2 separate regions of the Homo sapiens genome follow, and region 1 is linked to region 2. The links are contacts of gene promoters, found by promoter capture Hi-C in human tissues and cell types (Jung and others, 2019). All regions are on one chromosome and are shown on one strand. The core of a region is centred on a gene start or on the middle of the fragment in contact, and the rest is flanking DNA. Distances in the headings are between cores, read along the strand shown.

Region 1 (6,508 bases), core at 2,614-5,113, 120 kb after region 2:
TTGAACAAAGCACGTAGTAAATGCTCCATGGAAGATGGCCACGGCTGACCTTGGCTGGTCAGCTGATGAGAGTAGTGCGTATGCTGGGGCTTTGGGCTCTGTGGTATAAACTTTGTAGCACCTAGGGAAGGAGTCCAGTCTCCAAATTAGAGGAGGGTTGGATGAACACTGCACTTGGAGTGGGAAGACCTGAGTCGTCATGCTGGCTCTTCTACCTGTAAGCTGTGTGGCCCTGGGCATGTTACTTGGCCTCTCTGGGCTTCATCTAGAGAGGACAGGATGGAGCATGATCTTGCATGGCCTATGGGCTATTAATTTCTCCCTTTGCCATCCTCTTCCAGGTTTTTCTTTAACCTACTCATGGGAGAGACAATGAAAGATTTCTGGTTATTTAAAGGCTGACTGGTTAATATTGCCGGAAATTCTTTAGAAGGAGCAGAAGGCAAGATGCAGACAGTGATTAAAATCCTCTGCGTGGCTGGAAACAGTGGCTCATGCCTGTTATCTAAGCAGTTTGGGAGGCCAAGGCAGTCGGATTGCCTGAGCTCAGGAGTTCGAGACCAGCCTGGGCAACATGGTGAAACCCCACCTCTACCAAAAATACAAAAATATAGCTAGGCATGATGGCCTGCACCTGTGGTCCCAGCTACTTGGGAGGCTGAGGTGCGGGGATCGCTTGAGCCCTGGAGACGGAGGTTGCAGTGAGCTGAGATCACACCACTGCACTCCAGCTTGGGCGACAGAGTGAGACCCCATCTCAAACAAACAAAATACACCTTCTGTCTTTTACCAGATGTGAGAGCTTGCGGCAGGGCGGAGGGTGAGTGGTGAGGGACACATGGGTTCACAACTTTTTTTTTTTTTTAAGAATTTATCGTTGCAGCTGGGAGCGGTAGCTGACGCCTGTAATCCCAACACTTTGGGAAGCCGAGGCGGGCTGATCACTTGAAGCCAGGAGTTTGAGACAAGCCTGGCCAATGTGGTGAAACCCCGTCTCTACTAAAAATACAAAAATTAGCTGGGCGTGGTGGTGCATGCCTGTCATCCCAGCTATTCCGGAGACTGAGGCACAAAAATCACTGATCCCAGGAGGTGGAGGTGGCAGTTAGCCGAGATTGTGCCACGGCACTCTAGCTTGGATGGCAGAGCGAGACTGTCTCAAAAAAAAAAAAAAAGAAAGAAAGAAAGAAAAAGAAAAGAAAAAAAGTTTATCCTTGCCCTATAAGGATGAGCAGACCAAGGGGCTCCTTTTGGCCCACCTATCCCAGATTCAGGTTCAAATAGTGTGTTCCATATTTGGTAATGGTTTAAAACTTATAGCTGCTGCCGGCCGCGGTGGCTCACACCTGTAATCCCAGCACTTTGGAAGGCCAAGGTGGGCGGATGACGAGGTCAAGAGATAGAGACCATCCTGGCCAACATGGTGAAACCCTGTCTCTACTAAAAACACAAAAATTAGCAGGGTGTGGTGGTGCGTGCATGTAGTCCCAGCTACTCAGAGGCTGAGGCAGGAGAATCGCTTGAACCCAGGAGGCAGAGGTTGAAGTAAGCTGAGATCATGCCACTGCACTCCAGCCTGCTGACAAAGTGAGACTCCGTCTCAAAAAAAAAAAAAAAAAAAAACCTATAGCTGCATAAGCAGTTGTACTCACAGCCAGATGGAGGACTTATTTATTCTCCATTCAGTTATACGAGGTATTTGACAGCTTTAAAAAAAAAAAATGCCACTGAGGCTAAACCTGCTGTCATTCACTTGGGCAGTGGAGTTGCAAGTGACTTGGAAAGTTAATCCCCAGGCACCCGACAACTATATGCAATGTGGCCAACCAACTTAGCCCCAAGTCACTGGCGCTGTTATCATGGTATCATGGTGGAGCAGATTCCCCACCAAAAAGTTCAAGGCTGCTAGACTCCAGCTTCCAGGGAACTTGCTTCCCAGGGCTGAGTCCTCCTCTGAACTCTCATCTTGGCTAGTCTGCGCCGCCTCTTCATATTCACCATTTTCTGCTTTTATCACAGGTGTCGCGTATACATGCTCCAAGCCCACACAAATTGGGAGCTGCATTCAGAACCATTATCTCATGTTTCTTTGAGGCAGTCCAATATTAGAGCAAGGATCAGAAACTTGGGAACCAGACAGACCTGGGTTTGAATTCCACCTTCTGGTGACCCTGGGCAAGTGACCTCACCTTTTTCAGTCTTGTGTTGGTTAGCTACACAATAGGAATGCTAATCATAGCTCCTATAATAGCTTGCTCAGCTACCATCACAAAATACCACACACCGAGTGGCTTAAACTACAGAAATATATTTTCTCACAGTTCTGGAGGATAGAAGTCCAAGATCAAGATGCTGGCTGGATTAGTTCCTCCTGGTGCCTCTCTCCTTGGCTTGCAGATAGCCACCTTCCCTGCTGCCTCCTCACGTGGTTGTGCCTCTGTGGTAGCATAACCCTGGTGTCTCCTCCTCTTCTTATGGGGACACCAGTTATGTTGGATTAGGGATCCACCCTAATGGCCTCATTTTAACCTGATAGCCACTTTAACAACCTGATCTCCAATATGGTTATATTCTGAGGTATTGGGATTAGGGTTTCAACATAAGCATTTCGGGGAGGGAGGGTCAGGGGCATTTCAGCCTTAATCAGTTCCCAAATGTGTGTGGTGAATTTACTAGGGGCAGGTCCTCTGCAAAGTGCTTCACCTATATTCTGTCACTTCCTCTCAGATTTCAGAGGTAGATACAATATTATCCCCATTTTAGAGATACAGAAACAGAGGCCTAGAGATTTAGACAGCTTGCCCAAGGTCACAGAGCCAGTAACTGGCTGAGCCAAAGTTGAAACTCAAGCTTGCCTGACACCAGAGCCCACATTCCTAACCGTGATTCCTGTACTGTACTTTGGAGAAGTTACTAACTAAAGTGCCAGGCGCCTAGTTAGGAATTTAGTAAATGCTAGCTCCCTTATCTCTATGAAGCCCTAAAAGAGCTCAGAGTTGTTGAATGACTGGAGCCCTGTACCTCTAGGTAGTGCTTTCTGCTACTCACAGAGCCCTTTGCAGTCACCTTAGTCTTCCAATTCGGCACTAAACTTTAAAACATAACTACAAGCAAAATGTGTCCCTATAAAACTCTGCATTGATGTGAAACAGTGCTATAAAAGTGAAAAACCAGTGGAGAAAACAAAAACCATACTACCCAAATTTCCAGTGGAGTTATTGTCTGATGTGGTGAAATGATAATAGCACAACAGAAAAACCAATCCATCAGGCTGGTGTGGGGCTTCAGAGGCTGCCCCCCTGCCTGAAGCTGGATGCGGAGACCTGCTCCCTTGTGCGCTGGCATGGATTTCAGAGGCCGGGGGACGGCAAGACCAGCCTCACCATCTCATACATGGGGTCACGTTTTTTCAGGGACACAGCCACCCAAAGCTCATGGAAAATGTCCCTGCAAACTGAGTCCCGATTTCCTGATTTTTCTCCTTGTTCCCCCAAACGCTGAACACTGCAGTGAGGCCAGCCTTGTGTTTGCTTTATGGCACATGTCATCAATTCCAGAGTTTGTGATGCTTTTGAAGACAGGTTTTGCTTTAATCTGTGTGTGGACAGAGAATGGATTATGGTGGTTGCTGTGTCATTCTCTCTGTAGTACCTGAAGCCAGAGCCAGGGATGAAGGCCTGGGAGGTGTCGTCTCTCTCCTCCGATAGGATGTGTCCAGCTGAGCATAGAAGCCTGCGGACTTGCCACAGAGTTGATAACAAAGCCAACATTTAAATTGCCTTGTAGATTCTTGCATTACAGAATTTTTGAGCTAGGAATAGCAATCTAGACCAGTGCTTCTCAAACTTTAGTATGTATCTGAACACCTAAGGATCTTGTTAAAATGTGGATTCTGATTGTGTAAGTCTGGAACACGACCTAAGAATCTGCATGTCTAACATATTCCGAAGTGATTGTGCTGGCCTAGCACCACAGCAGAGCAAGGACCTAGGCTATGGTTGGTTTTCAAACTTAGCATATAGAAACAAATATCTTGAAAGGATGGTTAAAATGCTGCATCCCAGGCCACACAGCCGGGAAGTCTGGTTCATTAGATTTGGAATGGACCGGGGGATTTGACTTTGTAAATAGGCACCCTAGGTGATTTTGTTGTGTGTCACTTAGGGGCATACTTTAAGAAACATCGATCTCATATAGCCCCTGTTATTTTATATATTTTGAAGGAAGGAACCAAACATCTTTTGAGCACCTAATGTGTGCTAGGTACCTTATGTTGATGCCAACTCCTTCAGTCCTCCCAAGAATCCTGCATGAAAGGTGTTTTTATGCTTGCTACACTGATGAGGAAACTGGGCTTGAGTTTCACTCACTCACCAGAAATGAACCCAGGTCTCTCTGACTTTCTCACCCTCTTACTCCTGTGAGTTTTTTCCCTACCTTATGATGTGCTTTCTATGCAGAAACACATCTTGAATGGGAGAGGGATAACAATCATAAATTTATGAAGCTTTCATGGTTCAGTATTTTGAACTTATAAGCGCATATGAGTATATATAAGCACGTGCTCTTATCTGAGATCTAGGATATTAATACTTGAAACATTGAAAGAAAAAGATTTATAGACCTAAATACATGCTAGCAAGTAGACCTTTCTAAATTCCCTACAATTTATCAAAGGTAGAGTTGGGTTTTACATTTTAGTCTCTTCAGCCCTGTGGGCCAGCAGAAGAGTTTTCTAAAGTGATCGGGCAATACTTGTACTGAGAAGTACATTCTGCCAGCTTGGAAATTGTTTTTAAATTTTTTTTAAGAAGGAAAGAAAACCAAGCTGTGACTTTACAATGCTTTGGAATTACAGAATATGCTTGTAATTTTTACAATTCTGCACAGACTTCTTTGCCACATCTGGTTGATATTACTGGAAGGGATATATGGGGGAATAAACCATGGTCTGGAATGTGAAACATCCCACAAAATGAGTTTCTTATAGGTTGCTGCATAAAACATTTTGAATCTCCTTCTCTTTGGAAGGGTGGCTTAAGTGATTTCATGGATTTAGTATTTTCTTTGGTTTGAAGGTAAGGGCTTTTGCTGGTTTACTTGGTGGGCCTTCCAAGATGGTTTTCTGAAGATGTTTGTGTCATCCTAGAGTCATGTCATGGACCAGAGTGAGAAAAGCCATCCTTTAAGGAAATCAGACCAACCTTTGTTGAACAGCACTGGACCATTAGAGATAATGGTGAAATGTGGGACCAACTGAATCCCTCACTGCAAGAAAGGAGGCATGTAGGGAGAAAGGGTTGTATGTGTAAGGGCTTCAGAAAAACCTCCTAAATCTTGGCCATGGTGGTACATTGAACAGCTGATGGCAAGACAAGCTCACCTCCTCGCACATACAGCTGAAAGCCTTCATACATCAGTGTACTCTCTTTACTACGTATGAAAGTAGTGAGTGAGGAAAATGGAAAAATAAAACAAACACCCAGCTTATACTTGGGACTCAGTCAATTCCCTGTTGTTAACATTCCTGCCCCCTTTCTAGGAAGAGAAGTATGTGTCCAGGGACAACTAAAGTATTGTTGAACGCCTACTGTGTGTGTCACTCCAATGTGCTGGTGGTTGGGATGCTGAGTATAGAACCCAGAAATGTCTAACCTGAGCCCGGAGGGTATAAGTGTGGGCTTCTTGCCACCTCGCTCTTTCTCAGACTTCCTTGGCTGGGACCCACCTGTGGAGTTGAAACTGTGACAGCTGAGCCCTTTCTGCACAAAATCAGTGCTGCTCTCAGCACCCTGTGACCTGTGGTGGGGTTGGCCAGCCTAGGCAGGGTTTTGTGGCATCACCAAGGGTACTCAAATAGTCATCTCTTTGTTAAGAACGAGAACCAGAAGCCAGCCTTCACCCATACCATTCTTCATTCTCTTTATCTGGAGTTAGAAACTATCCATGGAATTAAATATTAGGGAAATACTGCATTGTATATAGAAAAATAACAACCTTTTGAGGTGAGCAGAACCCAAACACACATTCTTCAGTTGTCTGAAAGATGCAAATGTACCCACATCAATAATCTTGAAATATTTGTTCCTGAACCACATTCAGCATCAACAGAAACATTTCTAAAGAGCCTAATTATCTCTCATTTTCAACCAACATTTGGGAATCCCTCCAGGGGACAAATAGTATTTTAATTTGATGCCCCAAATTCTAGCATAATTTCAAATCACCAAAAACATCTGTAACTTTGTCTTTCTTCTGGCTTTCCTATGGACTCAGTATCTTGGATTTGAACATTAAATTCCATTTGTAAGGTTTGCAGTTCATTTACAAAGTCCAGGAGGTTGAGGTCTGTAATGAAAGTGTTGATACAATATTAACAACAGCAAAGCTATGATAACACAGCACTGTCCAAACCAAATAGAAATGGAGACGTTTAAGTCAATTTCATGCTCCTTGCCTAAATTTGGTGAGCTGGACCTGAGTTTTTGATTCATGGTTTAGAATAATA
Region 2 (6,496 bases), core at 1,518-4,017:
CAGGAATGGGCGAGTAGTTTGCTTTTGAAAAGCCTATGGAAAAGTAAAGGGGAAAATTCAAAAGTGTCCAGGGACTTTTACGCAACTCTAAAAATGACACCACAGAGTGTAAAGCCACCTCTGGCCCTTGGACATAGAAAGTTCTAAACAATAGCCTGACCTCCTAGTGATTTACCCAGTCTTCTCCAAGGAGGGTAATTGCTCCATGGGGTGGCTACCGCCTTCTGCAGATGCCCCAGAATCAGCTGAGGAAGTGGACAGAGCCACATGTTCAGCATTGGAAGCCCGGAGTCCTGGCTCTGGTTATTTCACTAATTAGCTAGGTGACCCTACATAAATGCCCGCCTTTCTCTGAAACTCAGCTTCCTTGTTCGTAAAATACAAGAGTTGAACTATATTTGGGTTCTCAAAGTATGTTCCAAGAGAATTTGCAGTTTACATGAAAAGTGGTCCTCTATACTGAGAAACTGGGTTAAATAAGCCTTAAACAGGTTTCCTTACTGCAGGACTTCTCAGGAACTTAAAAACACTCATCTGTGATGCAATTCTCCAAGAGGGGTGAAGGTGAGTAGCATTTCTCAATCTGTCTTTGCCCAAGGAGACTTTTTTCTCCTCCATGATGAAACATGTGGAATCAGTAGTCATCAGAAGGCACTTGTAGAAATGTTGGATTAGGTGATTTCTAAGGCTGTACCAGCCCAAACACTCCATGATTCTGTGTATCCTGGTGTTCTGGGCCCCTCCTGTATTTCCCACTTGCCTCCTCCTTGGGGATGATTGACTCTGAAGGAAATCCTCACCATCTGTTCTAAGGGGCTTCTCCCAGGAAAAGTCACACTTGAATGCCTATAAAGTCCCTTAAAGATACAGTCTGGCTCATGAAACCCCCCTGAGCAGCTTAAATGGAAAACGCAGTCCCCCACTGCGCTCAGAGCACAGATCCAGGACCAGCCCGAAGGGATTGCAAAACATGCTCTAGCATGCATTTGGGAAAACAAAGAAAACCGTACTGTTTTCTGCTCCAGACAGTCTGAGACGCTTTGTGCCCTTGGGCCCTTGCCCGGTTCTCTCATCTGCCTCAGTCCTGGTACTAAATTGGTTCAAGGTTTGGAGGAAAGCTTCAGAGCAAAGGGATAAAAGGATGTTTAGAGTTCTTAAATACCGAAGTCACCCTGAAGACCGGAGCATAGACCCTCGCCAGCCACCAGGGGGCGATAACAACAGCATCTGTACAGAAAGCCGTTCCCAAGAATAACAGCAGTAAATTGCACCTAATGTGTTTATGAATGATGAAGGGACTCGAGTGTGTGTGTTTGAGTGAGTGTGCGTATGTGTGTGTTTGTGTGTACGCGCGCGCAAGTGGGTGCCCAAAGCTAAGACTTTGAAAATCTGCTAAGTATAATACAATAAAATCTACAACTCTACTATATATTCACAGGATGTGGTCAAGTAGTTGAAAGTTTCCTTGAAGGAAAATGAGGTAGAAGAAATCAGAATAGTATTCTTATGAAAGAAAAGAGAAGCGCTCTCAGGAGTATAGTTGTCACTATGTGAGTGTGTGTGCGAGCATGCATGTACACGTGTGTGTGATTGCCGGTGTATAAATGGGTGTGTGTGAGCCTGAGTATGTGAGAGTGTGTGCGTGGCTGTGAATACGTAGGCACCAGTGTGTGTGTATATATATGCAGGGCTCATTCAGGCCTTCTCAGTGTGAGGGGACCTCAAGGAAATCTGGGCAATACTTCCTCCAGTTCCTGCCCTTTCCTTTCAAACAAACAAACAAAATCATTCCTACAAGTATTTATGGAGCCTCTAACGCACACGCCCCTCCCCACTGGCATCTGGAAAAGCTCAGACCTAGCCAATTTAAAGCGGGCGCTGGAAGAAAGAAGGCGCTGGGGACAGAAGGGATGCCTCGTCTGCGAATGACTTTTGCAAAAACACGTTCTCTTCTGTGATGCTCCAAACAACCCAGGGAGGTGAGGCCAGGTAGGACTGTGGCCCCGGATTTGAGAAAACGAAGGCTCAGAGATGACACGATTGGCCCAGAGTCACCCAGTCAGGAAGCAGAAACCCGAGGATGGAACAAGGCATTGTCAATCCAGGGGTCCAAGTCGCTGCCATCACTACTTTTACCAGTCCACCAAGCGCTGGGTCTGGGCAAAGCAGGGCAAGTTTCCGGGTAAGGTTTGCCAGCAGTGACCTCAACAACATGGACCACGGTGTGTGTGTGTGTGTAGCTGTGGAGTACATTGGTGTCAACCAAGGCTCTTCAGGCAAAATTGTGGATCTCTGCCATGAGTACTAGGTGCGGTAGGGAAGCGGCTTCGTGGGCGACACTGCCATGGTTTGGCGTCCCTAGCAGCTGTGCGACCTCCAGCAAGTCGCTTCACTTCTCTGAGCTGTTTTCAGACGACCCCTTGGAAGATCGTGGACTTAAGTAAAGAATATGAGTAGAGTGCTCAGCTCAGTGCAAAAATTAAAAAAAAAAAAGTGTCAGGAGCCTTATCCGTCCTTGGATCTTAACAGTGAATGAGTTTCAGTGTTTCTTTCCAGGGGCCCTGCTGGCCGAGCCCCTTTCCTTCCCTGGTTCCTTCTCTCTCCCTCCTCTACTGCCTCCTCCCTCCAGGCTCTCGGTCGCTCCAGCAAAGTTCCCAACTTAGTCGACATGACGCGCGGCGCAGCCAATGGGAGGCGGAGTTGGCGTTTCTTGGTCGGGGGGGGGCCGGAGGGGTGGGCCCCGCGTCTCCGGTGTCTGCCGTGCTCACTGAATGGAGAGAGCGAGCGCCGGCCAGCTCACCCGGCCGCCCCGTGCCCCAGCCGCAGCCGCCGCGCTCCCCAGCCCAGCCCCAAGCCGGACCTCCCCGGGCGCCACGCCCCATTGCGCTCGCCCCAGGTCCCCAACCCGGCCCGCGGGCCAGCGGGGCCAGGGGGCGCTCCGCACCTGGGCACTCCCAGCGATGCGCAGCGGGGCAGCGCCGGCCCCGCCGATGGAGCTGCTGTTGCTGCCGCCGCCGCCGCCCGGAGCGCCCCGCTCCGCCCGCGCCCCGTGCGCCTGAGCACCGAGCTCGCCCCTCCTCCGCGCTAACTCCGCCGCCCGCTCCCCAGGCCGCCCGCGCTCCCCGCGCGCCTCCTCGGGCTCCACGCGTCTTGCCCCGCAGAGGCAGCCTCCTCCAGGAGCGGGGCCCTGCACACCATGGCCCCCGGGTGGGCAGGGGTCGGCGCCGCCGTGCGCGCCCGCCTGGCGCTGGCCTTGGCGCTGGCGAGCGTCCTGAGTGGGCCTCCAGCCGTCGCCTGCCCCACCAAGTGTACCTGCTCCGCTGCCAGCGTGGACTGCCACGGGCTGGGCCTCCGCGCGGTTCCTCGGGGCATCCCCCGCAACGCTGAGCGCCTGTGAGTACCCCTGCCCCACCCCACGCGGGCCACCCACCTGGGTCCCACCGAGGGGGCCCCAGGCGCCAGATCCGTCCTTTCCCCTCGGCCTCCCTGGATGCAGTCTCTATTCTCATCCCTTCCTGGATACGATCCCTCACTCTCCGAGCTGGGGGTCTGTAGGCTTGGTCAGATCTGGAAAGAGAGGTCTCGAAACCCCCAGCGATGGGCAAAGAGCAGTGCCTCTCCAGGGGTGAGGGTTCCAGACGCAGGGCCCGCTGACAGCTTCCAAGGAGTAGCTGAGGAGAGGCGAGGGGAGGCAAGAGCACTGCAGCCTCAAGGTCTTAGGGTGAGGGTCAGGGGTCTGCGCTCGTTAAAAAGGGGGGCGGGCGAAGGAGAAAGCTATAGGATGATGGGCCGTCAAGGCGCGGAGGCGGGAGAGAGGGCCCGAGACTGTTGACCTGCTTGGAGATCAGAATGGGCCAGCCGCTCTCTGGCTGCCCTTGCAAGGAAAGTTGAGAGTGTGGGTGAAGGTTTAACTTCTGAGGAACTGGACAGATTCAGAGTGGGTGCTCGCAAAACCCGCTCTGCCTGGAGCGCAGTCTGGGAGATGCCAAGTTGCAGCCCCGGGTGAATTTTTTATGGCTCGGTTATAAATGCCTCCCCGAACGAAGGGGCCGGAGAATGGAAATGCTGACAGCCCTTCAAATGAGACCGAGCGTTATAATCTTACAAACCGCACTCAGCCTCAGATCCTGGGCTTGGCAGCGAATGGAGAGGCGCTTGGAGAATGGGGTGGATTGACCCTAGTTTTAGCCCCAATTGTGCAACCAAATATTTACTTTTCATATGTCAACGTTTTGGAAACATTTATCATTTTGATCCTCGGACCAGATTCAAAACTTGGACTCCGGGGTGGGCTCCTCTTAGTCCGCAGTTGGGGTGGGGTAAGGGAGTGGGGGAGAAACGCTGGAGTGGGTGGGAAGCCTTACTGGGAACCCAGCCGAGAAGTGGGTGAGGGTTTGCTCTAGTGTGGTAGATTCCCTCCGTGTCTTGCTCTCCCTCTTCTCCCCTTCCTCATGTGCCTTAGGGGTAGGCGCCTGGATCTTCCACTCTGCTTTCTTGACTTCAGGCTGGAAGAGAGTAGTGATGACAAGCATTGTCCTAGAGTGTGTTATTCCTGCTAGTCACCTCCTATCACCCCACCTCCTCTTCTCTTCCACTTCTTTGTGCATCTCTGGGTGGAGACTCAGCAGAACTGTCTTCCTTATTCCTGGTGCTCTCTTTTTCCTTTGGCTCAGTACTTTTTTGTTTTTCCACAAGTGCAGTGATTGTTTTGTTGGGTTGAACCACAGAATCCTAAAGGGTGAGAGCCGAATCTTTATTAACACATGTCGAAAACCAGGCTTGGAAGTGTAAAATGACTTGCCCAAGAAAACACAGCAAGTTGACGGCAATAAAGGGGCTAGAATCCAGGTTTTCACACCTTAATTCAGACATTAAGTTAGTCCATAGGAGTGAAAAACTTGTTTTAGTGGTATTTTTAGATACCTATAACTTGTAAACTAAGTTCCCCTCCTCGTCACACCAGTGCTAGCCACATGAGTTAGTGAAATAATAATTATAGCTAATGTTTGATAAATGCTTTTCATGCCTTGATTTGTGTATATGTATTATCTCATTGAATCACTCCAACAGTCCTGTTAGTTACATAGGCAATGCTTATTACTCCCTTTCACAGTTAAGCCATCTTGTCATTTACTCAAGGTCGTGCAGCTAGTGAAGTGTTTGGATCCAAGCCTGACTGGTTCCTAAGCCCACAACCGTTATCACTCTCCTGGTCATCCTTGGAACAAGGGTCAGTTTGGGCCACGATCTATAAACAGACAGTCTTGGGAGGGTTCTGGCTGGGCTTGGATCTTAGAATAGGCTGCTGTTGCTTCTGCTTCTGGTATACCCTGCAAATGTTCAGCTCACTTTGATGTTAGGTCTGCTGCTTGGGGTCTCGCAACTACATCTTCCGCATCTTCAAAATCGTGCTCCATGTTTGGGAAACCAAGAAGAGTAAGTCCCTCTCCTCCTGGTGTGTAGGAAGTTTTCCAGAGCTGCAGGAACCGCACCCATGCCAGCATGCCACCGAGTCATCTTCCTTAGGGGATCTGTGCAGCTCAGGGCAACCCATCAGCTCTAGAACTGGAGAAACAGGACAGAGACTGGAGTCCTGGTCATTCCCAGAGGCCCCCTGCTGCAGTCGTTAATAGGCAGTGGCAGAGCAGGAGCTTCTTTGATGTCTCTGGTCTCTTCTGCCTCAGTTGTGGTCACTGGTGCCACTTTGGCCAGGGTGCATGGGGGTGCCGCGATGGTATCTCATTCTAGTCTCCTTCCTCCCTGGGAATGGGGGACAGTCTGTAGGAGCAAGCTGGGTCAGGTTCACTGCAGGGTTTCAGGGCAACCCACCAACAGTCCTTCACCACCAAAGTCCTGCACCACACTCTCTCTCAGCCAACTCAAATGTAACATTTCAATTCTGAAAACTCTTGGGGGATATTTGGCATTTTTACTCTCTGCCAAGGATTTCTTCAGAGGAATCACTCATTTATTCCTGCCTTCATTCATTCAACAAACATTACTTGAAGCCGGGCGCAGTGGCTCATGCCTGTTATCCCAGCACTTTGGGAGGCTGAGGTGAGAGGATCGCTTGAGCCTAGGAGTTTGAGAACAAACATGACTTGAACCTCTACTGCATTCCAGAAACTGTATATAGAACCATTGCAAATACAGAAGAAAACCAGCACTTCAATGTAAAGAATGTAAGCAAAAGATAGAAGGAAACTTGCTTTGGTGAGCCTTTTGAACTTCCCAGGGTTCATGTTGCCATGGGGCACGTTTTGTCAGCACTGTCATCAGATGCTCAGGACCTTCCTAAAATCCAGTTTTCTGATCTCAAAGGTTTAAATTGTGTTTTAAAACAAAGAAACTGCATTTTCTCCGTTCTCCATTCTTGGTACTCTGCCTCCCAAAAAGGCTTTGATGAAGGGATTTGTGTGTGTGTGTGTCTGTGTATATTGCTTCTCTGGATGTTTTTGACTTCTGAAACCTTGTGTTATGACATTAAGGAAAACCT

The links. The method cuts DNA at HindIII sites, captures the fragments that hold promoters and counts their contacts. A contact is called where the count stands out against the background at its distance.
Region 1: a fragment that was not itself captured here is called in contact with the fragment with the promoter of SLIT3 in region 2 in 3 of the 25 tissues and cell types used here (liver, mesendoderm cells and thymus).

The regions. Positions count from the first base shown.
Region 1 is chr5:169,182,227-169,188,734 of GRCh38, reverse strand. All of the region lies in intron 4 of SLIT3 (slit guidance ligand 3), which reads left to right. Among named protein-coding and RNA genes, the nearest start is that of MIR585, 78 kb to the left of the region's middle. The HindIII fragment of the contact is 5,564 bases long and covers 1,082-6,508 here.
Region 2 is chr5:169,297,410-169,303,905 of GRCh38, reverse strand. SLIT3 (slit guidance ligand 3) reads left to right here and starts at 2,767. Exons shown (of 36, transcript NM_003062.4): 1 at 2,767-3,393. The coding sequence starts at 3,197. The HindIII fragment of the contact is 12,348 bases long and covers 1-6,496 here.